7 separate regions of the Homo sapiens genome follow, and all the other regions are linked to region 4. The links are contacts of gene promoters, found by promoter capture Hi-C in blood cells and fetal thymus (Javierre and others, 2016). All regions are on one chromosome and are shown on one strand. Each heading gives the region's core, a stretch centred on a gene start or on the middle of the fragment in contact. The rest is flanking DNA. Distances are from core to core; before and after follow the strand shown.

Region 1 (3,506 bases), core at 345-2,844, 1.2 Mb before region 4:
CAATGTCAGTCACCTTGTAGAAGAATATGGGAGAAGGAGAATGTAGTTGCAACCATCTTTGGAGAATACAATCTGTCATAAAAATTATGTGAACCTGTATATAGTTACTTTGATATCTCAAATTGAAATAAATATGAAGTTATCTTATAATCTCCAGGATGTTATACTTTATCAAATTTTGATAATTTTATAGAAACAACATGCTTAGGATGTAGCTAATTCAGCACTTTGAGGAAAATTTATAGTATTGAGTGTTCACATGAAACAGAAAAAATAGTATATTCTTAAATAATTACATATCTTCCACATTAGACATTTTTGGAAAAAAAAAAAAAAGTAATTAAGCCCAAATCAAGTAAGGAAACAAATATTATAAAGGTCAGAGCAGAAATCAATGAGACTAAAACCAGCAAAATAATAGACAAAAATCAAGGAAACAAAAAAACTACTCATTTAAAATATTCATAAAATTGTTAAACCTTTAGTTTACTGATGAAGCAAACAAAAAGAGGACATGCAATTTACCAGTGTCAGGAACGAAAGAATGAACATAACCATAGTTCCTGTGGATATTAAAGGATGATAAGATAATTTTTTTTTTTTTTTTTGAGATGGAGTCTCACTCTGTTGCTCAGGCTGGAGTGGAGTGGCAGGATCTCGGCTCACTGCAAGCTCTGTCTCCCGGATTCATGCCATTCTCCTGCCTCAGCCTCCCCAGTACCTGGGACTAAAGGCACCCGCCACCACACCCTGCTAATTTTTTGTATTTTTTTGGTAGAGATGGGGTTTCACCATGTTAACCAGGATGGTCTCGATATCCTGACCTCGTGATCTTCCCGCCTCAGCCTCCTTCCCAAAGTGCTGGGATTACAGGCGTGAGCCACCACGCCTGGCCAGGACGATGAGATAATTGTATGCAAAACTTTAAGATAAAACAGATTTAAGAGACAAATTCCTTGAAAGATACAAGCTACCAAATCTCACTCACAACGAGATAGAAAACCTAAATAATCTCATGTCTAATAAGAATTTGAAGTCACATTTTAAAAGCTTCTTACAAAGAAATCTCCAGGACTGAATGGCTTTACTGGCAAATGTTTAAGAAAGAACTAATATTAATTGTACACATACTCTTCCAATATAAATAAATAAATATATATACATGTATATGTGTGTAAGTGATATATACATATATGTATACACATTTACATGTATATACACACATGTATATATACTTGGGAGGCTGAGGTGGGCGGATCACGAGGTCAGGAGATGGAGACACGGTGAAACACTGTCTCAACTAAAAATACAAAAAATTAGCCGGGCGTGATGGTGGGTGCCTGTAGGCCCAGCTACTAGTGAGGCTGAGGCAGGAGAATGGCGTGAACCCAGGAGGCGGAGCTTGCAGTGAGTCGAGACTGCGCCACTGCACTCCAGCCTGGGCGACAGAGCAAGACTCCGTCTCAAAAAAACAAAACAAAACAACAACAACAACTATATATATATATATATATATATATATATATGAATGATATGGCTATTATTGTCTTAGTACCAAAAGCAGTAAAGATGAACTTCCTAGGATTTGCCTTTGACAAGAAGCCATCTGAATGGAATCATACAGTATACAGCCTTAAGTTTCTGCATTCTTTTGTTTAACATTTTCTTTGAGATTTCTTCATATTGTTGCATGTGTCTGTAGTTTGCTTCATTTTATTGCTAAGTTGTATTCCGTTTCATTGGTAAACCATAATTTGTTTATCCATTCACCAGATGATGGATATTTAAATTCCAGGATTGATACAAATAACCATTTAAAATATATTTATGTCCTTATTAAGATATATGACTAATGGAACAGAGATGCCGATGTACAATGCAGCCTGCCTGCAATCTGTAATCTGTATACTATATTCAAAAGAGGTAAAATTACAATAAGGACAGGGTAAGGATAAAAAAACTACCTATTAGGTACTATGCTGATTACCTGGGTAACAAAATATTCTGTACGCCAACTCCCTGCCACAGGAAATTTACCTATATAAAAAACCTGCACATGTACCCCTGAACCTAAAATAAAAGTTAAATAAAAAGATACTCTAATAGTTTATACTATGATGAACAGAAGCCAGACAAAAGAAGCTTTTGGGGGCATTCTATTTCTGCTGATTATTTTCAAGGTGATTGACATTCCCATAAGGGTATATAACAAATTGCCTTTGATGGTAAATTCTTTATATCACTGCAAAGTCATTTTCAAAGTTCAGATGTTTAAGTGCCTCATCTGCTGTCTCTCTTCCCCAAGTCACCTGCAGGTCATCAGAGAGTCTGCTGATCTGTCTCAGGGTGGGCTCCATGTTGTCTAATAACTATCCCTCTAGATCATCTCCCAGTTGAAATCCTTGAAATCTCCTTTAGTCCTTAATATAAAATTAAAGGTATCACATAACTAAGATACACGTTACCTTTCCAGATTTACTCTCTATATGTTTCGCTTTAGTGTTCTGTTTCAGACAATGATTTTGCTTATTTAAGAATATACTTTCATATTTTAAAATGTAAAACCATTGTCCATACAATTTGCCCCACCTTGGAAGTCTGGACTTCCTCTGTCCTTGTTTGTCTGAATCTAACCTGTTCTTAATCTCAACACAAACTTATATTTCTAAACAATCTGTTCCTAACCTCCACCACCTGGGGATTATTTCTATTTATTCTTTTTTTATTCTGTATAGCAACATTTACATAATATATTTAGGCCATATGATACTGCAGAAAGTAATAGATTCTTGTGGACATAGTGAAGTTTTGTTGTTTGTTGATTTGTTTCTTAATTCTTTTCTTAGTTGCGAAATTCCCTACCACATGAAGCTGTTCTGAAAGCAGAGTTGGCCTCCCTCTACAGAAAGTGAGAAGTCAAATACTCACTTTCCCAGACTCCGTTCTTGCAAGAGTGGTAGATCAGATGCAAGCACCTAGGAATTTAAATCAAGACATAGCATAGCAAAGAAGCCCGGGGAGGGGAGATTGTGTTCCTTCAGCGATGACATCAGCAGTGGCAACAGCAACATTCAGGATCAAAAAACCACAGAGGCAACAATTTTAGCAATTGCCATTATTGTCTACAGTCACAGCTCTGCCCCAGAAAGCCTCAGGTTCCCCTGCTCATGGTGACAGCTGCTCTCTTTTCACCTAACTGGTTCTGCAGAGCAGTTTTTCTGTTTTTTTTTGTTGTTGGTTTTTTGTTTGTTTGTTTGTTTGTTTGTTTTGCTGTGATTCTCTCTGTCTGATCTTCCTTTGATATTACCTATATTCTTCACATGTTTTTTAGCCTTCTGGTGTTTTGTTAACTATTCATCCATTCAATAAATCCCTTGTTCCGCTGAAATCAGCTTGCTGACAATGCAGAACTACTAATCCAGTGCTTTCACACATATCACTACGTCATTGCAACATTGCTTAGATGGATGTTAATATTCTCATCTGCATATGAAGAAACTGAAGCT
Region 2 (3,785 bases), core at 21-2,520, 1.0 Mb before region 4:
GAGAGCTAGCGAAAGTGGCTCCATTTATGAACTGCGTAGAAGCTGAAACTGCATATTTTCAAACAGATTGTCTCCACAAACCAAGATAACAGCTTGAATCAGGAGAGGGCTGCACTGACTCAGGGTTAGAGGTGTGAAGTGCAGGGGGGAGCACTGGAAGGCGGCCACAGCACATGGACCATGGGATGGATGGATGCCTTTTCCAGATCTACACGGGAGAGGGTGACATGTGACATTCACCACGGCGACTTTTTGGAAGCAGCTCATTTCATGGATTCTTAGCATTAAAAAAAAAGTCAGAATTATGTTTACTTTAAATAGGGCATGTGCTGATTTCTCTCTCATTCCACAAGGCATTGTGTTCTCTTGATGCAGCAGGAAAGATACCCTGAAGGTTAGTGGTAAGAGACCCACATCGCCATGGTTACCTCCAAGATTCCTTTCTTCTCTGCAAAAGCACAAGTCATCAAAAACTTAAAAACCCCATACTGAGTCTAACTAAGGAGGAGAAATAAAATACTGTCAATATTTTTGACAACACATTCTCCATCTCCAGCTGCAAATTGCTTTCAAATACACTTTGGAAATGGTGTTACAGTGCCCTGTGACTGACTTGGCATGGAGTTGAGCTCTTAACATTTGGGAGGGGAAATAATATTAAATCGATGAATGGATGCTTTGAATTGTCTGCACTTCCTTATTTACATCTTTTCATTAATATTAAGGTGTGATGATATGTTTTATTCAAAGTGAGATCTAAGCGCTCTTCAAAGACTTGTAGGGATTAAGAGCTCTTCTGATTATTGGCTCAGCAGAGGTCCAGTCCTTGGTAATACTTTTTTTTTTTTTTTTTTTTGAGACAGGTCTTACTTTGTCACTCAGACTAGAATGCAGTGGCACAAATACAGCTCACTGCAGGCTCAACCTCCCAAGCTCAACCTATCTTCCCACCCCAGCCTCTTGAGTAGCTTGGACTACTGGCATGTGCCACCATGTCCACCTAATTTTTTTATTTTTTGTAGAGTCAGGGGTCTCCCCATGTTTCCCAGGCTAGTCTTGAACTCCTAAGCTCAAGTGATTCTCCCGCCTCAGCTTTCCAAAGTGCTGGGAGCACAGGTGTGAGATGCTGTTCCTGGATGGTAATGATTGTATTACTTTCTCTCCATACCGCAACACCCGCTTCTTCATACCTCTCTTGATGGTCTTTATACACTTTATGTTTTGTATCTTAGCCATGCACAAATATGGCTTCTCTCTCCAACTCTCTTTAGTAATCTTTGATGAAAGAACAGTGGTGTGAATTGCATTTGTATCCTTTTTAGTGTGTCTAACACAGTGTTCATATAATGAACTCTGAATAATTATTTATAGATTGAATGAATAAATGAACAATATAAATGATGTCACCAGTGCTAGAAAGGTATAATCTGTTAACTTAGACATATCTCAACAAGTTATTAATTTTTATATTCACTGAGACAAATTAAGAAAAAGTAGTCGATATTTGCATGCTTGGAAGAATTTAATTCTGGTGACTTTTTGAAACGGAAATTTTGTAAGTGCCAATAAATAGCATTTACATTATTTGTTGTGCTCTACAATTTCGTCATGATAATAAAATATTGTTTGGATATAAAAAAGATCTGACTAAACTAGCCTGGGTGGTGTCCAAACCATCTGTTTAGGTCCAAAAAACACTTGTAGGGAATAAATATGTCTATAATGAGCTTGTGACTTTTAGATTTGAAACCTTAAGTGCAGAATTCAATAACAGTCCTCAGATGGCAGCTCTCAGAGATATCTACCAAGGAAGAAAACAGACAAGTTACCATTGCTAGTCAGATGCCTTTGCCAAGAAAGCGGAAGCATGGAAATGTAGGTCACAGATGGAATTCCATTATTTCATGGCTATGGTGTCCTAAGCAGAAATCTGAAAACCACACCTGGCTGAGTTCCGATCAGAAGGAGCACCCATGTCCCCCTCTGTGGGGCTTGGCCTACTCTCAAGCATGGCCCTCTTCCCTCTCACGGATAGGCAGGAACGATTTTCTTAATCTTTACTTCGTCTAACATTATTTATATCTTCCACTGCAAGCCAGGCACTGTGCACATTGTTGGTGGTTCAGCAGCAATCCAGATAAACTTGATTCTTCCCTCCACGGAGATTTTTGCAGAATGAACACAGTCTTTGGAATCAAATGCAGATCTGAATACAACGCTTTCTACCCAAGAGCAAAGCAGATACATAGGATCTCTGACACCTCAATAAAATGCTTATATCCAAAAAGGATCATGCAATGAGAATAGCAGAATTTACAAAATCTCTGCTAAAAGGATACTGCTAGAATGTAGGCAAGATAAGGAATATGCATGGTCAACAAGGAGAGAAAAATGTGACAGAGATCAGAGTCACATGGATGAAAAGACACGATTACTTAATGAAACCAAATTTGCTTAGACCCCCTCAAAAATGAAGAAGGCCCTTCACCTACTCAAAGATGAGGAGAAATATGTTCTCGGCTGTGTTAAAATAAACGCAAGAAAAACTTTATCCATTTCCAAATGCTTGTGTGTGTGTATTTCTGTGTGTGTGTGTGTATCTGTGTCTGTGTGTAAGATAAAAGTTAACCCCATTTCAAAACCTGCTAGCTACATACAGATGAACTGTATTCTAAATACTGTTGTAAAAAATTCAGTGTTTAAATAAAAGCTTTTAAAAAAGAAAAATAAATAATGCTATGGGACTAGATTGAAAAACATGAGTTTTCTTATGGATTTCAAGTTCATTGCTCCCATCAAAATCCATGCAAGCAAAGGCACGAGAGCCAACCACAGTGACCCAGAGTCATTCTTCTCATTAACAAGAATCAGGGGAGTTGTTCTATTCAGGCTACAGATGACCACAGTTATCAAACTAATGCCAGACAATTTCCAAGCCAGCTGGCATGCTCTTTGTCCACAGTAATTCAACTATTGACTGACAGCCTACAATGGGCATGTGAAGTGGCCCCTGCAAGCCTGAGAAGGCTGGAGAGAACAGGATACCTGTGGCTTCTGCCTTCATGGAGCTTCAAGTCAAGAGGGACAAAAAAGCTAAACAAACAATTCAGAGGCTTGTATGTTAGAAATATTTCACGAGGATAGAACAGGTCATGTGGGAGCCAGAAAGGAGGGTGGAACAAATTGAGAGAGGGTGGTCAGGGTCAGACTTCTGAAGACACCATTTTGGCAGAGATGAAAGTTTGAGGGAGAGAAAGAGCCAGACAGAAGTGGCGGTGGTGATGGTGACGATCATTTCCTGTAGGAGGAAATACAGGTACAGATTCTTCTGCAGTTTGGTGTGTTTGAGGTTATACAAAACACATTCTGTGTCAGAAGAATGAGAAAGAATCAACAAGATACCCAAAAATGGCTCACTCACCATGTCCAATCTACCAAAGAAGAAAACGGGCAAGTTACCATGACTAGTTAGATGACTTCGGCAAGAAAGCAGAAACATTAAAATGTAGGTCACAGATGGAATTCCATTATTTCATGGCTATCGTGTCCGAAGCACAAATCTGAAAACCACACCATCATTGAGCTGCAAAGGCTTTATGTCACTGCTTGGCAACAAGTCTTTCAGGCACTTAGGAATATGGAAACCTTCCTAATTTACTTTCTGCCTTAGAAGCATCAAAAATAGTAAGAATAAATAAACCCCCAAAACTATAATCTTCTGAAATGAAATTGAATGAAAACATTATATACAAATGTGTAGATGCAGCATAATTAAAATATTGCAA
Region 3 (3,707 bases), core at 764-3,263, 1.0 Mb before region 4:
TATCTCCTCAGCTAACAGATGCCCAGCCTCATGTCGGAACCAGATCGCGCCACTGCTGAGATTCCATCCAGTTCCTTTCTTATTGAGCCGTTTCCCTAGCAGATGGTGCAATGCTGCAGGCATACTCCTTCCTGTTAATTACCAGCCTTTGCTACAGATGGAAATGTCAGTCAGCCTCACAGGTCCTGGTTCCTGCCATTGCCTCAGTCCCTAGCCCTCTACCTAGGCAAGATGCTGCCAACACACACCATGTGTTTTGTGACTGCTGACTAGGCAGGCAACAAAAAACAACTTACTTCATGAATATTCATGGCGGAATGTTTAAAGTTCTGTTCATCTGTGATGCTTATAGATCCGCTTAAAGGGGATGGCACCTTCCTAAGAACACTCTGCCCCTTGTTTTCCTAAACTGAGGATACACGAGTTACCAAGTGAGTTGTCATGGCAACGTAGAGAGGACCATTAAACGTCGGCCATTTGGAGCCTTCTGTAGATACATCAGTTTCTGACTAACATTCTTCTCATACCTCTAAGTATCACTTAATTATTCTTGTCCTGCCATAACAGACCAATAGTCACCAAGCTGAACTGATTAGCTAATAACTGTTGGTTTTCATTAAACCCTGATTATCTCATTAGCGCATATGTAGCCAATATGAATTCCTTGATCTTTCTTGGTATTTAAATATACCAAATCGAGATAAATGAATTTCAGTAGTCATCCTCTATCCATTAAGTCGAATTATTTTACTTGTGTTGGAAACATTTTAGCAATCAAAACTGGGTATCTTTTTAGGTTTAGAGGAAAAAATTAGGGCTCAGGTTTTGAGAGTAGAGAAGAGGAAGTGAGATCTTGAGGAAGACTTTGATTGAAGGTCATTCAGATAAGCTTTTTTTCTTTTTTTTAATTTGTCATCTTCTTTGGGATGCTGTGTTTATAGGTGAGATCACGTGATGATGGAGAAGGTCACCAGAGCCAGGCACCTTGTCCACACACAGGGCTTCCTTCCTCCATGACTTAACCCAGAGATGTAGACGGCGGGGTCAACATTAAATACCACAAACAGGCAAAAGAGCTTCAGACAGAAGGATCATCTTCCTGAAGACAAAATAATCATCATCCTTTGAGGGCAAAGTGGGCAACGTTATGGGTATGTAAAATTGAGAAGCAGCTTTCATGAGTCCTGATTTATTTATTTAAAAATCTAAATTTATTTTTTTCCTTAGGTATCTTTTGTTTTGGAATGGGACTCTACACTATGGGATTTCTAGTGGAGAGGACAGTTACCAGAGTCAGCACTGGAGGTATGGGAATTTCTAAGCTAGAGAACTGCAGTAGGGAAAATTGAAAGATGCTATTTTGGGGGTCTCACTGATAGTTATGAAGCTTAAGTGTTTTTTCCTGGTGTCTTTTTAAGAAGCATATGTTAGTTGTATGCTTTATGATATAAAAAAAGATAAAGCATGTATAGGTATTTTACAGGCAGAGCAGAGATGGGGATATTCTGAATGCCCTTACCCCCCAGAAAACAAAAGTTAAGCTACATATATTTTATAAAGTAATAGGAGAGGATACATCTCTAGGAAAAGTGGGGAGATAATGCCCATAACGTAGCTAGGGCTCTACATTCCCTTGTTCAAAATCAACTATGATTGCATTTTACAATGAAGAACGCACACAGTGATTTGCAGGTAAATATTTAACAACAAGCTCGCCAAATAAAAATTGCTAGAATATATATACATGTATATAATGTCATTATAAACTTTACTCATATAAAGGATGTATATCACACAATTTACAAATAATAAAATACACAATACTCTTTATTGCAAATTTTACATAAGCAATTAATTCTTACAGAATACTTTCACTGATTTTTGCCAAGCTGCAGTATCTGTAGCCAACCTATGGTTACAATTCAGTTATGATTTGATAATTGAAACTGAATCCCTTTCTGCTCTTTCCTCATTAAATTTGTTATCATTAAGTCCAATATGTGATCTATTGTTAAACTAGTTCTCATTCTCATACAAACTATTATACATTTAGTAAATCAAAGTCTGTTTCTGGTTCATTGCTATGTATATCGGAATTTCACCCTTTGTTCAATGATGTGAGGAACTTTTTGTCTAATTGGATAATGGTATTCAAATACAGGAAGAATATTTCTTCAATATCTTTTGCTATACACAATGTAGTAGCTACATGCACAGCACACTATTAGGTTTAATCTGCATTACTGACATTTTCTGCAATACTTTCTTAAGTCTAGTCAATCAACAGAGCATTAAATCAAGTTTTGTTTTACAGTGTTTGCCAATTTCTGTTTTATAAATATTTCTACCATGCTCAATTTCAAGCTACCAACATGATGTCACTGAAGGCAAAGTTGGACAGAGAAGTTATAATAGTACACTTGATTTTTAATAATGACTGTGTTTAACAACCAAATTACAAAATTGCTGAAAATTTAACCCTAGGCTCTTGCAGGCTGGTGCAAGTCAACTCAAACACACCACCAGGGCACCCACTCTCCCCATTTCCTCCACTTATCATCTCTTTTGGAATAAAGATATCATGTGTGTATGTTTACAAGTATGTAAAAATTACATAATTTTACAAAATCTTATTTAAGTGAAGCTTAATAAAGCATTCAATAAATTGAATTGAATGGATGCACACTTAATGAAGCTAGTTGAAAAAATAAAATATAAACACATGGAAAGTTTAGTAATATTTGGAGTGAGTTTCGCTTTGTGCCAAGGGAGATTTAACAGGACAATATGGCTTCTAAGAAGGGTGAGGACTTTCTGTATAGCCTAGTAGGGGTGGGCAAGGAGGTTAGCCTGAGCCTAGAAAAGTGGTTAAGATTTGGGTAGGTGAAGAGGGAAAAAAAGAATAGTTCAGTCATTAACTCAAAGAATATGTATTGATTGATTACTAGTAACCATAAATATTAAATTTTATATCATTAACAATCTTTAAAAGGGTACAGAGTTTCTCCAAAGAATGTTTTAATCTTCTAAGCAACTGGCGGGACACAAATAAATGTCAAAAATCAGTTACTTAAGGAGTTTTAAATGTCTAAATTTTAAAAATTAACCACAGTGTCTAAAAGCAAACAAAAATTGTTTTCCTTATATACTATATCTTTAAAAATTCTGTGGAGAATAACAGCAACAGAAACTTATGAGGAAGCCAAAAATTGCTTGTCAGATTTAGGAGATATACAAAAACCAAGTGTTTTGTTTTGTTTTGCTTTGTTTTTTAATTTGGTCTTCAAAGGAGGGAGAAGAAGGACACATGTAATTAAAGGTCAAAATGATAATAACTTGGCTAGAATTCATTTTCATTTGCAGACTGGCACTTGTAGGAATTCCCTATTAGCCCAAAGACTAGCCTGAAGTTAGTTAGGCATTATTTCCCAAAGTAAGAAAAGTTAGCTTTCATTTCTAAAGCCAGGAAGAAAGAATTATAGATCTGTATAAAACAAACATGGATGTGTTTGCCATAAAATGAGAAAAGAGATCTGTAATTCTGAATAAAGAAATATCTAACCTCTAATAGGGAAAATTTAAAAAATTTACTTTTTATTGAAAAGTAAATATGGAAATAAATACGAAAAATAACCAAATTGAAAATTGTTCAATCTGGTTAGTAATGTAATTAAAGGAATAAGATGTCAATTTCTCTTAGAAGGGAA
Region 4 (3,533 bases), core at 81-2,580:
GAATTCTAGATAAGCTACAATTATGTGAAAATTAAGGTATTTAAGTAAATAGCTGCAAACTTTTTAAAACTTAGACTGAAAGAACGAGTTCTTAAAAGATTTTCAGCCAAAAAAAAAAAAAAAAACCTTGAACCCGTATTCAGTACTAGTGCTGAAAAGATTCCAAACCTCATATGACAGAATATTTTTTTTTCCTTAGTGTGAAGATGTCTATCAATGGCTAGGGCCACCTATCTGTCACAAAGCTTTGGAACTCCTCTAGGTGTTGGAATGTGACACCAGAAATCACAATTAGTGCATAATTAATCACATTACTTTGCCACCTACACGGAAGGGCACAGACCGGCAGCCTTTCAAGGGCAGTGTATGTAAATGTAGTTTCAATATGCAAATTCTCCTAATTATTTCCGATTAATACGATCATTATAATAGCCCTGCCTCCTTCTTGAAAAGGAACCCTGAAAGCGCCCTGCCTGTGAGAGCTCCTTAGCGACCGGTGAGGTTGGGCATGGTTTGCAATAAGTACTCATTTTCTTGAGTTTACAGTAATGCCTCCCGCGCTGCTCCGGGTTGCAAAAGCCCACACTAAGCCTGTCGTCGAATGCGTGCGTGGGTGGTTTGTTTGTGTTAACATAACTTTTCCTTATCTGAAGAGACGAACTCACTCTACAAACGTGACTCTTCAGTGACAACCTAATTTGCGTTTTCACTTTCTTCTGAAATGCTTTCTATCTTTCCTCACGCTCTCCCTCCGATGGGTTGCAGTGAACTGTGGCTTCCCCCCTGCGGTGCTGAACTCGCCCGTGTAGCTGTGATTTTAGAGCTGCCGACAGCTCTAAGGTGTGTAGGGCTTGGTCTGGGAACACCCCCAGGGCAAGGGTCCCGCCGCGCGCTTGGAATTAGAATTAAGAATGCATATTTAGGCGCCCAGGGTCTGCCCCCTTCTCCCTCCTCCTTCCCCTCCCCCTTCCCCTCCCCCTTCCCCTCCCCCATCTTCCCTTCTCTTCCTCCTCCCTCCTCCTCTCCCTCCTCCCGCCTCCCTCCTCCCCGCCCCCCGCCCGCCGCTCCCCGCCCCCCGCCCCCCGCCAGCCCCGCACTTACTGTACTGTACTCTATTTACCACCCCAGCTGGGCTCGCGCCCCGCCCACCCCGCGGGGATTGGCTGCGAACGCGGAAGAACCAAGCCCACGCCCCGCGCCCGCGCCCACCAATGGAAGCGCCCGCTCGTCTTGATAGACGTGCCACCTTCCGCCAATGGGGACGAAGGGAAGCTCCAGCGTGTGGCCCCGGCGAGTGCGGATAAAAGCCGCCCCGCCGGGCTCGGGCTTCATTCTGAGCCGAGCCCGGTGCCAAGCGCAGCTAGCTCAGCAGGCGGCAGCGGCGGCCTGAGCTTCAGGGCAGCCAGCTCCCTCCCGGTCTCGCCTTCCCTCGCGGTCAGCATGAAAGCCTTCAGTCCCGTGAGGTCCGTTAGGAAAAACAGCCTGTCGGACCACAGCCTGGGCATCTCCCGGAGCAAAACCCCTGTGGACGACCCGATGAGCCTGCTATACAACATGAACGACTGCTACTCCAAGCTCAAGGAGCTGGTGCCCAGCATCCCCCAGAACAAGAAGGTGAGCAAGATGGAAATCCTGCAGCACGTCATCGACTACATCTTGGACCTGCAGATCGCCCTGGACTCGCATCCCACTATTGTCAGCCTGCATCACCAGAGACCCGGGCAGAACCAGGCGTCCAGGACGCCGCTGACCACCCTCAACACGGATATCAGCATCCTGTCCTTGCAGGTAAGACCTGCTCCGGGGTCCCCGCCCCGCCGCCGCACACTCCCGCGGTCGTCTGGGCTGTCACTAGGAGATCCGTAGCCCAGACGGTGACTTTCGTATGAGCTATTTAACTTTATTTTCTTCAGAATCTGCTGTAGATTGAGCTGTGCGTGAAATTGCTAGTAAGTTCTGACATGTTAATGCGTCTGTCTTTAAATCTGAATTGTTACCATAAACGTGTTTAATGGAACTTGCTGGTCTGTGGACTACAAAAAAAAAAAAAAAAAAAAAAAAACCCTTTCTACTTAACATTGTCTTAACCTCGTACTCTTTATCCTCTTTCTTTCCAGGCTTCTGAATTCCCTTCTGAGTTAATGTCAAATGACAGCAAAGCACTGTGTGGCTGAATAAGCGGTGAGTGTTTGCTTGTGCCACCCGTGGGTAAACTGCCCCTCGGTGTGTGTGCGCGCGCGCGCATGTGTTTTTGCTTGTGTATCTATAAAATGTCTGATTTGGTAAATGCATGCTTACTTCGCGGTGTTACCCGTACTACATTGTCTCACTAGACATGAAGGAGCTTGTAGCTTTGGGTGCTCGAGATCACAGAACATTTTCCTTTAAAAGGAAATGATGCCAATAACTTACTACGAAGGCGGCCGAGGAACGTGTGTATTGGCTTTGTAGCAAATGTAATGCCCTGGATCTTCCTACGAGTCCTCTGGTACTATGAGGTACTAACCTCCACTGTAATTAATCTTACCGCCACAAATTCCATAGTGATCCTCCTTCCCTAAAACTATAGTCCTCTGGGATTCTCTGGGCTAGTTGAGGATTGCTACCCTGTGCCTTCAACCCTGTGATGTGGGATCCCAGACTTCCCTATCTGTTAACTAAAGGGCTGTTTTCAATCAAATAATTGTTACGAGAAGCAGACTGGCGCCTGTAGCACTGCTGTTGGAGATCCAAATAGGAGATTGGGTTGGGAAGTTTTTCCCTTGAGTCTCTGCTATTTTAATGTTTAATTTGCGCTGTCGAGGCGAGTGTGTGTGTTGCATCTGGACGCCAGGGTTTGCCCAATCTTTGAGTGTTTGGTTAAATGTTCAAACTGTGGCTTCCTCCCGGCGCCAGTCGCCCGCCTCTGCCCTTAGGTTACATTCTCTTAAACATGCCTTTCTCCCCCACTCTTTCGCAGGTGTTCATGATTTCTTTTATTCTTTGCACAACAACAACAACAACAAATTCACGGAATCTTTTAAGTGCTGAACTTATTTTTCAACCATTTCACAAGGAGGACAAGTTGAATGGACCTTTTTAAAAAGAAAAAAAAAATGGAAGGAAAACTAAGAATGATCATCTTCCCAGGGTGTTCTCTTACTTGGACTGTGATATTCGTTATTTATGAAAAAGACTTTTAAATGCCCTTTCTGCAGTTGGAAGGTTTTCTTTATATACTATTCCCACCATGGGGAGCGAAAACGTTAAAATCACAAGGAATTGCCCAATCTAAGCAGACTTTGCCTTTTTTCAAAGGTGGAGCGTGAATACCAGAAGGATCCAGTATTCAGTCACTTAAATGAAGTCTTTTGGTCAGAAATTACCTTTTTGACACAAGCCTACTGAATGCTGTGTATATATTTATATATAAATATATCTATTTGAGTGAAACCTTGTGAACTCTTTAATTAGAGTTTTCTTGTATAGTGGCAGAGATGTCTATTTCTGCATTCAAAAGTGTAATGATGTACTTATTCATGCTAAACTTTTTA
Region 5 (3,797 bases), core at 602-3,101, 1.2 Mb before region 4:
CAGCTCTTTGGAGGGAAGGAAAAAAGAAGCAAAATATTTGCTAAAATCAGACTCACTCTGGTTTTTTGGAAAGTGACTGCCTTATCCATTGCTGCTGTGTGCATGTCCAGGAAGCAGCACAGTCATACAGAGGAGGACTTCGAGGTCCCAATCACACTGCTGTGTGGCCCCCATTAACACCACTTCCTAATAAATTATGCCAAGTGCTTATGATACCACAGGCACTTTAAACATAAGAATACATTAATTTATAGTAAAATACAAGTTGTTGTTGAAAAAGAAATGACTAGATTTGTTCATTATTGGTTATAACTGAGTATATAGGAAATATCAGTCCATGAATTAATTTTACACAATCTTTAAATTAGTCATAGTGAGTTTGGCTCAAGAGTAGTATTTTGTGATGGAGACACTTCGTTAAAAAATAGGAAAGAGGGAGGGTGTTCTCTGAGGACCCTTGGCGAGTTGAATTTTGTGACTAAAATATATAATGTTCTAACTGTGGCAGATGCAGCTCTGAAGTAATGAAATAGATAAACACTGGGAGAGGGACAAGGGAAGAAAAGATCTACTAGGCTGACCACAACTAGGGCTACTAGCCAGCTGGTAGGGTGCTACAATTGTTTCCTTTGCTGCCATAACATATTATTACGAACTTAGTTTTTTTAAAACATGTATTTCTTATTTCATGGTTTTGTAGGTTGAAATCTGGATCATCTCATTACTGTGCTTCTGGTTTCACTAGGCTGGAATCAAGGTGTCCATCGGCTAAGCTCTAATCAACAGTTCTAGCAAGAATCTGCTCCCAATGCCATTCACGTTGCTGGCAGAATCCACTTTATTTTGGTTTCACTAGTGAGGTTCTCATTTGCTGCCTGACAGCTGGCTTTAAGCTCCAGAGACCTCTCTCTGGTTTTTGTGTGTGAGCATCTATACCTCAGAGCCAGCAATGGTGCACTGAAACGTTCTCACTCATGGAATCACTCTGACTTCCCTTTTTGCTGCATCTTTCTGACTCCATCCAGAGAAAGTGCTCCAGTTTTGAGGGTTTCTGTGATTATATTAGACCCACTCAGATAGTCTAGGATAATCTTCCAATTCTGAAAACTGTAACCTTAATTACATCTGCATTGTCTTTTTTTTTTTTTTTTTTTACCATGTAATGTAACATATTTTTAGATTCCAGGGACTGTCCATATTTATCTTTGGGGGCCTTTATTCTGGCCACCACAGATGCACTCACTCTTTGGATGCTAGTGGTCAAGTCTGGTACAAGCTTTTTAATGTGTTCAGCATGATTTAGCCACTTTCTATATCCGTGCAGAGACATGGGTGATGGCATTAAATCCTTAACGGCATAAATAAAGGGATAGTACAAACAGTGTCATTTATCTTGTGGTTAAAAGTCAGAATAAGGTTCAACTTCTGGTATGGCTATATACTGGGATGGACATGGCGCCCATCTTGAATATGTGGATCTTGGGAAAATGACTCTCATATTTTCTTTGATAAAATGGGACTAATAAAACTCAATGGGAGATAATCAAAAGGATAATGATGTACTCATTTACTAACATCTTATGGAGATGAAATATGATAATCCCTGTAAAGACATTTGCTCATGGTTGTTGCTAAACAAATGTTAGTTCCCTTCTAACCTTCTCCTACTCTATTTTTCCAGTATTGTTACAAGAATCCAGAGATTATTTATTTTCATTAAACAAAATTTTAAGAAACAGAAAAAATAATATAGATATCTATATTGCCTACTACTCAATCTCCACCTAGTAATTCCCAAAGCGTTTGAATCCACTTGCGGGCACCAATAAAGATACACAATGGAAATATCTAATTGTTAAGCATCTGGACAACTAAAGTGTTGCAATTTGTACATTTGAAATGTTATGTTGAAGTAAATCAATGAATTGTAAGTAAGTCATGTGAAAAGATGTCTGATAATGTTTTTCTGGCTATGTATGGAATGGTTAAAATGGTTTATTCTAAGAGTTTACAGATGTGTAAAAGTTCATAAATAATTCACACAATAGGACAATTGAGAATAATTTGGAGTCTGTTACATCAAGCACCATTGTTTGTTACAAATATCTACATGACATTGAAACTCCAATTTCTTCTACAACCAAACATTAGAATTATTACTTGGCAGTGAAGTCCGTGCCTCAATGATATTTATTCAGGCAATACATTCAAGAAAGGATTTCATGAAAGCCAATATTCTCAATGGCAGCTGGAGATCTCCTGGTTCATAAAATATTGTACTTTAGAGTAGACCATGGAAAGTTAAACTTTCAATCCCTCTCTGATACCTGCTGTCCCCTGTAAAGCTGTTTTTTAATCTCCTCTTTCCAAAGGCTGGGATCATTCCCCTTTCATCAGTGTTCTTATTACTCATTTAATACCTCTGTTGAAGCTTCCTCCACTGTAGTTTGGGGGTTTTTGTTCACTTTTTCTGTTTCCTTCATTGGGCTGTGAACTCTTCAAATGTAAAAACCACATATTGTTGACTTCTATTTCTAGATCTAGTTTGGTTTTCTGGGTTAGAACTGGCTCCCAGTAGAGCACTTCATTAAAAGCACTGAAGAACTTCAGTTATAAGCATATAATAGGAAAAATATTTAACACAATGTGGGTAAATGTGAGCTGATTTTAGGACAGAGAACAAACTAACATATAGGGAATGATGAAAAAGAAACTTTGGAGAAAGAATAGAAGAAAAGTATTTTTAATATCAAATATTATGCCTTGATCTCTGGGATATTTTTCTTTCTCAAATATAATCGGACTATTGAGTCTAGAATATATTTTACCATTATAGTTATAGAAATACTTTCCAGTTGTTTAACAATTCAAATCAGCAATGGTCATATGAATTTGAAAAATAAGAAAAAAAGATTAAATATGAAAAATAAAAAGGAAAGGCATTTGTGCTAGGGATCCACCAATTTGATGCTTTGAGATTACAATCAGGGTACTGAAGTTGAGTGCTGGGCAGCCAGCGAGGCAGTTTCTTGCCTTGTGCATCATCTTATAACATGGCATTTTCCCAGAGTAATTATTCAATCAGCCTAAGTACACACATTAGGTGTTGGTCTTTGGCTCTGAAAATGTGAAAACCTAATGCTTAGAATTGAAAGGCACCAGAGTTTTCCAACTTCTTCATACCATGCAGATGGAATATGCAGACCAGAGCCACCTTCACACTTGGTTCTAATGCAGATGATATGATTATGCACAGACAGGCAATGGGAAATATGTTTATTTAGGGTTATACAGAGCAAGTGCTATGATGTTTACCCTTCAAAAACACCTATGAGACTCAAGAATTCCTCCTAATGACAGAGGTTTTTCCAAATATCAAACAGACAGTGCCTGGTGATGATCAGGAACCACTGTTTCAATCAATTATATTCTCACCCATATTTCACTCAACCTAATGAACTGCAATGACTCAGCATTAATGAATTCCTAAACATATGTTTTGTCCAATTGATCATCTTGCTGCTAGTTCTGGACTCTTTCACTACCTACAGTTAATAACATAAGCCTTATTTCTTTTCTTGACATCATTCATTTTCTTGAAATTTGCAAGACTAAACCTATTAAACCATAATAAAAAGCAAAGCTTTAGATTCCTTATTGTAATTCCCAGTTAAGTACATCTTCCACCAGCAAACAGTCAAGATGTTGCTTAGTCACTCATAAAATATTAAAATGTTCAATATTAGTCATTTTATGGAACCATCAGAGGTTGGATAAATTTATTGGTTCAACTTAGG
Region 6 (3,574 bases), core at 749-3,248, 1.2 Mb before region 4:
GAAAAATGAAGACTGTTACCTTCAGTGGGGAAAAATGGAAATATCTCAGGGAGGCTGATTGGAACTGACTTTCCTTTTTCAATATCACAGGCTTCGTCAAGGGGGTTACCCCGGGGGATCATTTCTCATATAAACACTTGCATTTTCCTTTTCACGTTATGAGGAGGTGATGAAGGACAAAAGAGCTATTGTTCTCTCACTTCTACTTTAATTTCCCCCAGTGGTGTTTTATCAGGTTCTGCATTTTGGAATCTGTTTTCCCTTTTCCTGATCCTCCTATTTTTTTGAGTCAGTAATGAGGAGTTCAAATGCCAAGCAAACTGCTGATGCAAGCAATGTGCTATCTGTTTGGAGATGAACTTGGAAGATTTATCAATTAGGGAGGCTTTTGCGATACTCAAGTGGAGAAGTAGTTTCCAAAGCTACCTATTTTGTAAGACTGAGATAAAAGAAATGCCAGCCTCTTTACCGTAGAGTGTGATTCCAGCTGACCGAAGTGAAAAAGTCAGAAATGAGAATGCTGCTGACCTGAGAATTTAGGGGAATCACAACACCCCTTGGACCCATTACTTTTGACTGGTGATGAGATTTTCTTTTTGAGAGGTTTACAGCAAGGGGCATCTTAAGGGATTTTGCCCCTAGACAAATCCGACTGGGCATGGCATTCATTAGAAATCTAAAACTGCTATTCACATATTTAGGAGCCAGATAAAGCTAAAAATTCATTTTGTAAATGTATTTCCTCTTAAGCTCTAGTGTCTTACGTATAAGAAATATCCTTAAAAGTGAATCAGCAAAGCTTCAAGAAAACCACTGAATCTAATTCTTAGCAAAATTTTGGTTCTATGTAGAAAAAGTATTTTTTAAATGGTGTGTTATTTAATTTAAAAGATACAAATAAGTTAAAAACTAGAGCCAGCCTCACCATACAACTAGCTGTAAACTTAGGATGACCTGAAATATGGTCAGCTCTCTATTGTTTTCATTTTGAAGAGGCTCAGAAAAGAAAAGTGCTAGGACCACTGGAAGCCACGAAAGTAGAATCATACATCGTATCTCCTGGTCTCCCAATTCCTTCCCTCCACTGTGTTCAGACTTCATTATTGCTTGAGTTTTGTTTTTGTTTTTAACACCATCCAGGTATTCCTTGAAGTTTACTTGGGTCACAATAAGAGTGGTTGTTTGCTCCTTTTGAGCACATTTGGATCTCACATCCTTGATTTGGAGGTTATCTATACAAGTTTTAACACACATAAAATTTACACTTCGTAAAGCAGAAAATATTTATTTATTTTGTATAGATTTTGCCATCTGCAGGGGAGCATGTAATAAATATTTGATGTTCCTCAAATGGGCACACAAGAAATGCTTTGAAGATAAATTGGACTTGCCTTCTGAGATTTATTTAAAAATATATATCTGAGAATAAAACTACTACGGAAGTGAGCAGACTTTTAATATTTCTTCTGGAAGCCTTAATTTGGAGACCACAACTTTTCATAAGGTTCTTGAATTTTCAGTGCTCAATGCTTCTACTCCGACTTTTGTGACATGTTAAGTCAGGCAATAAAGCAATCTGTGTTTCAGATAAAGTTTCTTATTAATTTTTATGTAAATTAGGGGCCCACTACTTTGTTTATTGGCTCCTACTGCAAAAAAGAGGGTATATGTCTTTTTAAAAATGATAAATTTCAATAGATCCGTCTGTCAAAGATGCAAAATAAATCTTCGTTTTCAAACTTCTGCTGCTGAGAGGGAGAGAATACCTCTTTTTTTAAAATGTGTTTTCATATTTGCATGGGAAAAACGAAACTTCAAGAATTAATGCAAGAGAAACAAGTATATAAAATGTGAAAAACAGAGACCTTTCGGTGGAACACGTTTGGGGTAGCGTTATGCACAGGACGGAGCAGGGGTCTGCTTGTAGAAGCCCTAAGCAAGCCTGACATTAATGAGCCACAGGATGTCAGAAGAAGAGGAGAAGGGTGAATTCATTCTTACAGATAGGCTAGAAGCCAAAAAAAAAATTTGTAAGTTGTGGAGACTTTCCAATGTTTCTGTAAAATCAGGACCCGCAAAATTTCTTTTACTTCTATTTTCTTTTACTCTTCTACATTAAAGTTGAAAATAGATGAAACAACTGTTATGGGTTGAATTGCATCCCCTCCAAATGCATAAGCTGAAGTCCTAAGCCTCATAGCCTCTGATTGCGACCAGAACAGGATCATTGCAGATGTAATTAGTTAAGATGAGGTCATACTGGAGTAGGGTGGGCCCCTAGTCCAATATAATCGGTGTCCTTAGGAAAAAAGAAAAGAAAAACTCTGCACAAGACACGCACACGTGCACGCACGCACGCACACACACACAGAGGGAGGATGGCATGTGAAAACGAAGGCTGAGATCAGGTTGAGGCTTCTACAAGCCAAGGAACACTAAGGATTGCCAGGAAACCACCAGGAGCTCGGAAGAGGCTTGGGACAGATTCTTCCTCACTGCCTTCAGAGGGAACCAACCCTGCCAACACCTTGATTTCAGACTTCCGGTCTGCAGAACTGTGAGGCAATAAATATGTGTTGTTTTTAAGCCAGCTGTTGGAGGTACTTTTTTACAGCAGCCTTGAAAACTAATATTACTCCTAAGAATTTTCATCATTTTGAATTTTTACTCTATGGCATAATTTTTTTAAAAAACTAACAAAAACAGGTCTGGAAGAAGTCATGGGAAGGTTGAGGTATCCTGCTTAGCTGCATCTCACAGGGCAAGGGAAAACAGAATAACAGAGGCTGGATGGTGTGTAGGGCGTTTCAGCATTTCAGAGCATTGCACAAATGATAACTACTACACAGCTTCAATAGGGCTCCCTTTCTCCAGCTTTGGGGCAAGACAGATGAACGGGAAGCAAAATGGCTCCAAACCACAGAAAGAGACGTATGGATTAAAGTAGGCTATAGTTTCTTTATAGTGTTTCTACTTTTACTTCTTCCATTTGTGCCTGGAGGATGCAGGCCTCCTTCACCCAGCAGGTGAGGTTGCTTCTAGTGTTCTATGTGTTTCATCTGCACAGCAAACATAATGTTGAATCACAACCCTTCTTGCTTCAGTTGGGGAATCTTCTCCATTCTTATGGAGTCCTGCCTATTCTACATCTAAGAATTCTCACCTATTGCACACACTTTTCTTTCTCTTTTTATGGGAAAGCTTTTCTTAACTTGCATTTCATAGCACTGTCCTTGACATGTGAAGAAAAATTTTTGGAGTTTAGAAACACTCTTTTACCCCATTTTTTGGAACAAAGCCTACCTTTCAATGAATCTTTTGTATTAGGTTATCTCTGCTCCTCTCCTAAATTAGTGAATGCCATTTATTCCATGAGTGGTGAAACTCAGGGCTAGAAATATCTATAAGAATTAAAAAAATGCACCAGAAGAGAGTTAAACAACATTATCCCCTTACATCATGTTTTCTTTTGCAGAGGAAAGTGAAAGGAGTGGATACAGTATTGCCCTGGGAACCCTGCAAAGCTCAGGACAATTATAAACATGTGTGATCATTCTTGGGGGTTATTTGTTTG
Region 7 (3,799 bases), core at 12-2,511, 1.1 Mb before region 4:
GAATTGGAATTATAAGACCAACAAAGGCTCAGTGAAACATTTTCATGTATTTCTATCTCTAGCTCATAATTTTAAATTAATATGGTTGTATGCGGGCAATTGAAACTAAAGAAAAGCATAGCTTTTGATAACAACTCTTTTTCTTCCATTTTTTTCCAGTATTCATTTGTGGCTTTACAGCTATTAGTTAAATAACTATGAAGAAATCAAATGGCGAAATCAGCCAACATTGACTTTAGCTTTGAGAATAATTTTAGAATCATATTAAAAGATAATTGATCTTAAAATACAAGATAATGAAAACTGAGTGGCTTTGGCGCAGATGTAAAGGATTTACCTAAAAAATGCTGTCAGCTATATTTTGGGGATGAAATGGATTCCATAATGTACCTGAGTCTTGACAACACATTTCGAACAGAGAGATTTCTAGTCTTGCTTGAGAATTACTTGTGAATTTAGAAAATATGTCACTATCCAGATAATCTAGAATAACGTAGGATTTCCATGGTTTGGAAAAAAAATGTTTTTTTCTCTGATAACAAGCATGCTTGGCTTCTTCTCTACTCAAAGTATTTGAAAACACTAAACCACAAAACTAACTAGATCACCAACTGGCTAAATAATTAAATAAACAAAATAATGCCAGAATTCAAATTATATGAGAGTATACAAGCCTTAAGCTTGCACACTTTTTATTTGGATAGAATACGAAGCAGAAATTTAGAAGGAGTATATGTAGGTTTTATATTCAACTCTACAAACACATATTAAGTGCCTATTACATATGTGTGAAGTGCTGGAGTTACAAGATGAGTGAGAAGCAGTTCCACCGGTGAGGTGTTTCCCAGCGAGTGTAGAGGAAAAAGCAATCTGGAACCGGAGTGGTTTCCTCTGTGTTCTCAAGGTTCTATTACGGATGTACCTCAATTTGGCACAAACTCTGAGTAGTTAGTGCAGCAATCAACCTGATCGTATTCATCTATTTTCCATTTACTCCCCTGTGGTGAAAGGTCTTGGTTTTCAAAAGAGTAAATAGTGAATTGATTGTGATTGTATGCAGGTGATCCTAATAATAATTATTATTTATTAAGTTGGTTGTATGTCTTTGCATTAGGTAATTGATCCACTAATAGAATGTGAAATTAGGACTGCTAATAAAAATGTTTCTTTGTTAATTTCCGTCCCTGAAGTTTGCAAATTGTGTACTCACCAAAGCGTGAAGAAAGAAAGAGAAAGATGTTGGTTACACAGGGTTGAGTTCACAACAAGCACAATAGAGGGGACGGATCGAATTTTCCAAGGAGGTTTTTGCTATAGATAATTTGAGTGTATTTCAGGAAACATATTAGCAGAAGTAATTTATGGTAAGTTCTGAATATGGCAGGAGGTGAGATTACTTCAAGCATGTGCCATTTTTGGCTCCCTGGTCTAGAGAAGTTCTTTCTACCCAAACTATCAATCAGCTAAATTATTTTCAAACTTAATTAGATGAAAGAATTTGGTCCTATGATTTGAATGTGCTGGAAGGTGTCCAGGCTACTAGAAACGTCATTTCAATAATACTCTTCTATGCCATCTGTAAGAATCACACCAAACAGACTTAATGCAGATGAACATAATACAAAACAGAACCTACAGCCGAAGAGGGAAACAGAGTTCATGAAGACATACACAAGCACACACGGGCACACACGAACACACACACACCTCGGATCCTGTGGAAACACAAAACTATATGTAGGGGCCACATACAAAGTGAGCAGTGGCAGGCAGGAAAGAAACTTAAAGAAGAGGCTTCCTCCATTTTGAGATCAACATTCCTCCAAAAATAATTTTGTATTTAAAGCTTCCAATTATTCTTTTGTCAGATTGACTTTTGGGATGTGGTCCTTCAGAGAAGTATATTTTTTTCATTTAGATGGATGTGTGTGTGTGTTTGTGTTTCTAAGTGTGTGATGTCAATATTCAGTCATAGTTTAAAACAGTGTTTCTTTTTTCAGGAATAGAAATCAAAGGTTGTCTGGTGCTTTTGTAGAGAGACTTATGCCTAGTTACCAGCTTAGACTTGATTACCCAGCATCTTCTGGGGCATGGAAGGTGGGAGATTTGATACATATAATATGTCTACACAGACACAAATACTCCCAGATAGACAGAGATGGGCATTGTGAGAATGCCTGCTGTGGCTGTTTATGGAGGGAAAGACTCCTCTCAATTGGAAGATTTAGGAAGTCTTTGCACGAGACAGATAACATTTTGGGAAATTTTTCCTTGAAGGAGGGGTATTCTACTTGAGATGTACAAGACAGGTAGATTTGGATTTTCAGGTGATGAGAACAAAAGAAGCAAAAGTTAATAATTGCTGTATTGCTGTATCTTCTTGCTTTAGTAAATTTTTTTTTTTTTGAGACAGAGTCTCACTCTGTCGCCCAGGCTGGAGTGCAGTGGTGTGATCTTCGCTCACTGCAGCCTCCACCTCCCGGGTTCAAGCGATTTCCGGGCTCAGCCTCCCAAGTCGCTGGTACTACAGGCATGCACCACCATACCCAGTTAATTTTCATACTTTTAGTAGAGACCGGTTTCACCATGTTGGTCAGGCTGGTCTCAAACTCCTGACCTCAAGTGATCTACCTACCTCGACATCCCAAAGTGTTGAGATTACAGGTATGAGCCACTGTGAGTGGCCCGTATTAGTAATTTTTAATAGCTGAGGGCTGAAAACACCAAAGATCCTGGGAAGACTTAGCTCAATTCGAGGTTCACCATTGTGTAAAGCATTGGTTCTCACACAGCACAGTTTCTCAGACAAGCAACATCAGAATCACCTGGACATTTCTTAGAAATGTAAATTCTAGGTCCCTACTCAAAACAAAACAGAAACTCAAGGGATAGGGGCCAGCAACCTAGGTTTTAACAAGCCCCACAGATGTGTCTAAATGCTCTCTAAACTTTGAGAAATGTAGCATGAAACACTGCTAATAAACTGTCCCTTCTGTTGGCAGAACTTATTGATCCTTACCTTTCTTCCTTATAAAGTCAGGGCCGAGTTATCCGGCTTTTCATGTGCCTTCACAGAGAACACTGATAGGTGCTCATCACTGACTATATTTTTAGGGGACTTTTGGTAGTTAATCTTACTGATTATGTTTGCTGCTTTGATTTACAAAATAAAATATGGCAATTCAATGAGCTGGTACCATAAGGTCAAAAATCACAACATCACCCTGCTAAGCTCATGACATCCCGTAACTCCAAGTGCCTTGGTGGGAAGGGGGAATCCAGTATGTGCTCAGGTGGATGTGACACACAGGTTAATTCCAGAATACTCATGGTGCTCAAGCTCTTTGCAGGCTCATCCCTTCAGTTACTACAGGACCCTCAAGGGACCGTCACATTCCCTGAGTGGTGCAGTTAGATGAGGTCAGTAGCTCTTCCAGGCATGGCAGACTAAAGGAGAAGTTTGTGCGGCTGAACATTGACCCAAAGCCGTGTTGCACTGGGTTTTGTTTCACAGTGGGGAACTTGAGTTGAATGGCCTTCTGTGGCTCTCCCTTCTGATGCTCTGTTCCCTCCCACTTGGGGCTGGCCCTATCAATTAGGTTGGTGCAATAGCAATTGCTGCTTTCATCATACTTTTAATGGCAAAAACTGCAGTGACCTTTGCACCAACCTAACATACATAAAGGCAAGTTGCTAGTGGAATTGAGCTACCTCCAGTTGGAGTCAAAGAATCTCAATGTTCAGCGTGCCCTTGGAGAGTGTGCGCTTCTACCCGCTCATTGTTGCGATTGCCAGACCG

Evidence for each region. Contacts are between HindIII fragments. The CHiCAGO score rates a contact against its expected background, and 5 or more counts as called.
Region 1: a fragment that was not itself captured here is called in contact with the fragment with the promoter of ID2 in region 4 in 2 of 17 cell types (total CD8 T cells and naive CD4 T cells); the score reaches 5.6 in total CD8 T cells.
Region 2: a contact is called between a fragment that was not itself captured here and the fragment with the promoter of ID2 in region 4, in 1 of 17 cell types (naive CD8 T cells). The highest score is 5.5, in naive CD8 T cells.
Region 3: a fragment that was not itself captured here is called in contact with the fragment with the promoter of ID2 in region 4 in 1 of 17 cell types (activated CD4 T cells); the score reaches 6.5 in activated CD4 T cells.
Region 5: a fragment that was not itself captured here is called in contact with the fragment with the promoter of ID2 in region 4 in 2 of 17 cell types (naive CD4 T cells and naive CD8 T cells); the score reaches 5.9 in naive CD4 T cells.
Region 6: a contact is called between a fragment that was not itself captured here and the fragment with the promoter of ID2 in region 4, in 1 of 17 cell types (naive CD8 T cells). The highest score is 5.6, in naive CD8 T cells.
Region 7: a contact is called between a fragment that was not itself captured here and the fragment with the promoter of ID2 in region 4, in 1 of 17 cell types (fetal thymus). The highest score is 12.5, in fetal thymus.

Annotation. Positions count from the first base shown.
Region 1 is chr2:7,494,382-7,497,887 of GRCh38, forward strand. No RefSeq gene overlaps it. Among named protein-coding and RNA genes, the nearest start is that of LINC01871, 230 kb to the right of the region's middle. The HindIII fragment of the contact is 1,092 bases long and covers 1,049-2,140 here.
Region 2 is chr2:7,646,742-7,650,526 of GRCh38, forward strand. No RefSeq gene overlaps it. Among named protein-coding and RNA genes, the nearest start is that of LINC01871, 77 kb to the right of the region's middle. The HindIII fragment of the contact is 2,876 bases long and covers 1-2,708 here.
Region 3 is chr2:7,666,620-7,670,326 of GRCh38, forward strand. LOC101929510 (a long non-coding RNA gene) reads left to right here. Exons shown (of 5, transcript XR_007088657.1): 3 at 942-1,151; 4 at 1,228-1,305. Among named protein-coding and RNA genes, the nearest start is that of LINC01871, 57 kb to the right of the region's middle. The HindIII fragment of the contact is 1,257 bases long and covers 1,386-2,642 here.
Region 4 is chr2:8,680,726-8,684,258 of GRCh38, forward strand. It overlaps ID2 (inhibitor of DNA binding 2), which reads left to right and starts at 1,331. Exons shown (of 3, transcript NM_002166.5): 1 at 1,331-1,788; 2 at 2,118-2,181; 3 at 2,960-3,533. The coding sequence starts at 1,441. The coding sequence ends at 2,174. It overlaps ID2-AS1 (ID2 antisense RNA 1), which reads right to left and starts at 1,138. Exons shown (of 4, transcript NR_110154.1): 1 at 1,102-1,138. RefSeq lists enhancers at 530-1,033, 1,521-1,570. The HindIII fragment of the contact is 3,638 bases long and covers 244-3,533 here.
Region 5 is chr2:7,513,077-7,516,873 of GRCh38, forward strand. No RefSeq gene overlaps it. Among named protein-coding and RNA genes, the nearest start is that of LINC01871, 210 kb to the right of the region's middle. The HindIII fragment of the contact is 1,155 bases long and covers 1,275-2,429 here.
Region 6 is chr2:7,473,098-7,476,671 of GRCh38, forward strand. No RefSeq gene overlaps it. Among named protein-coding and RNA genes, the nearest start is that of LINC01871, 250 kb to the right of the region's middle. The HindIII fragment of the contact is 2,402 bases long and covers 798-3,199 here.
Region 7 is chr2:7,595,750-7,599,548 of GRCh38, forward strand. No RefSeq gene overlaps it. Among named protein-coding and RNA genes, the nearest start is that of LINC01871, 130 kb to the right of the region's middle. The HindIII fragment of the contact is 1,166 bases long and covers 679-1,844 here.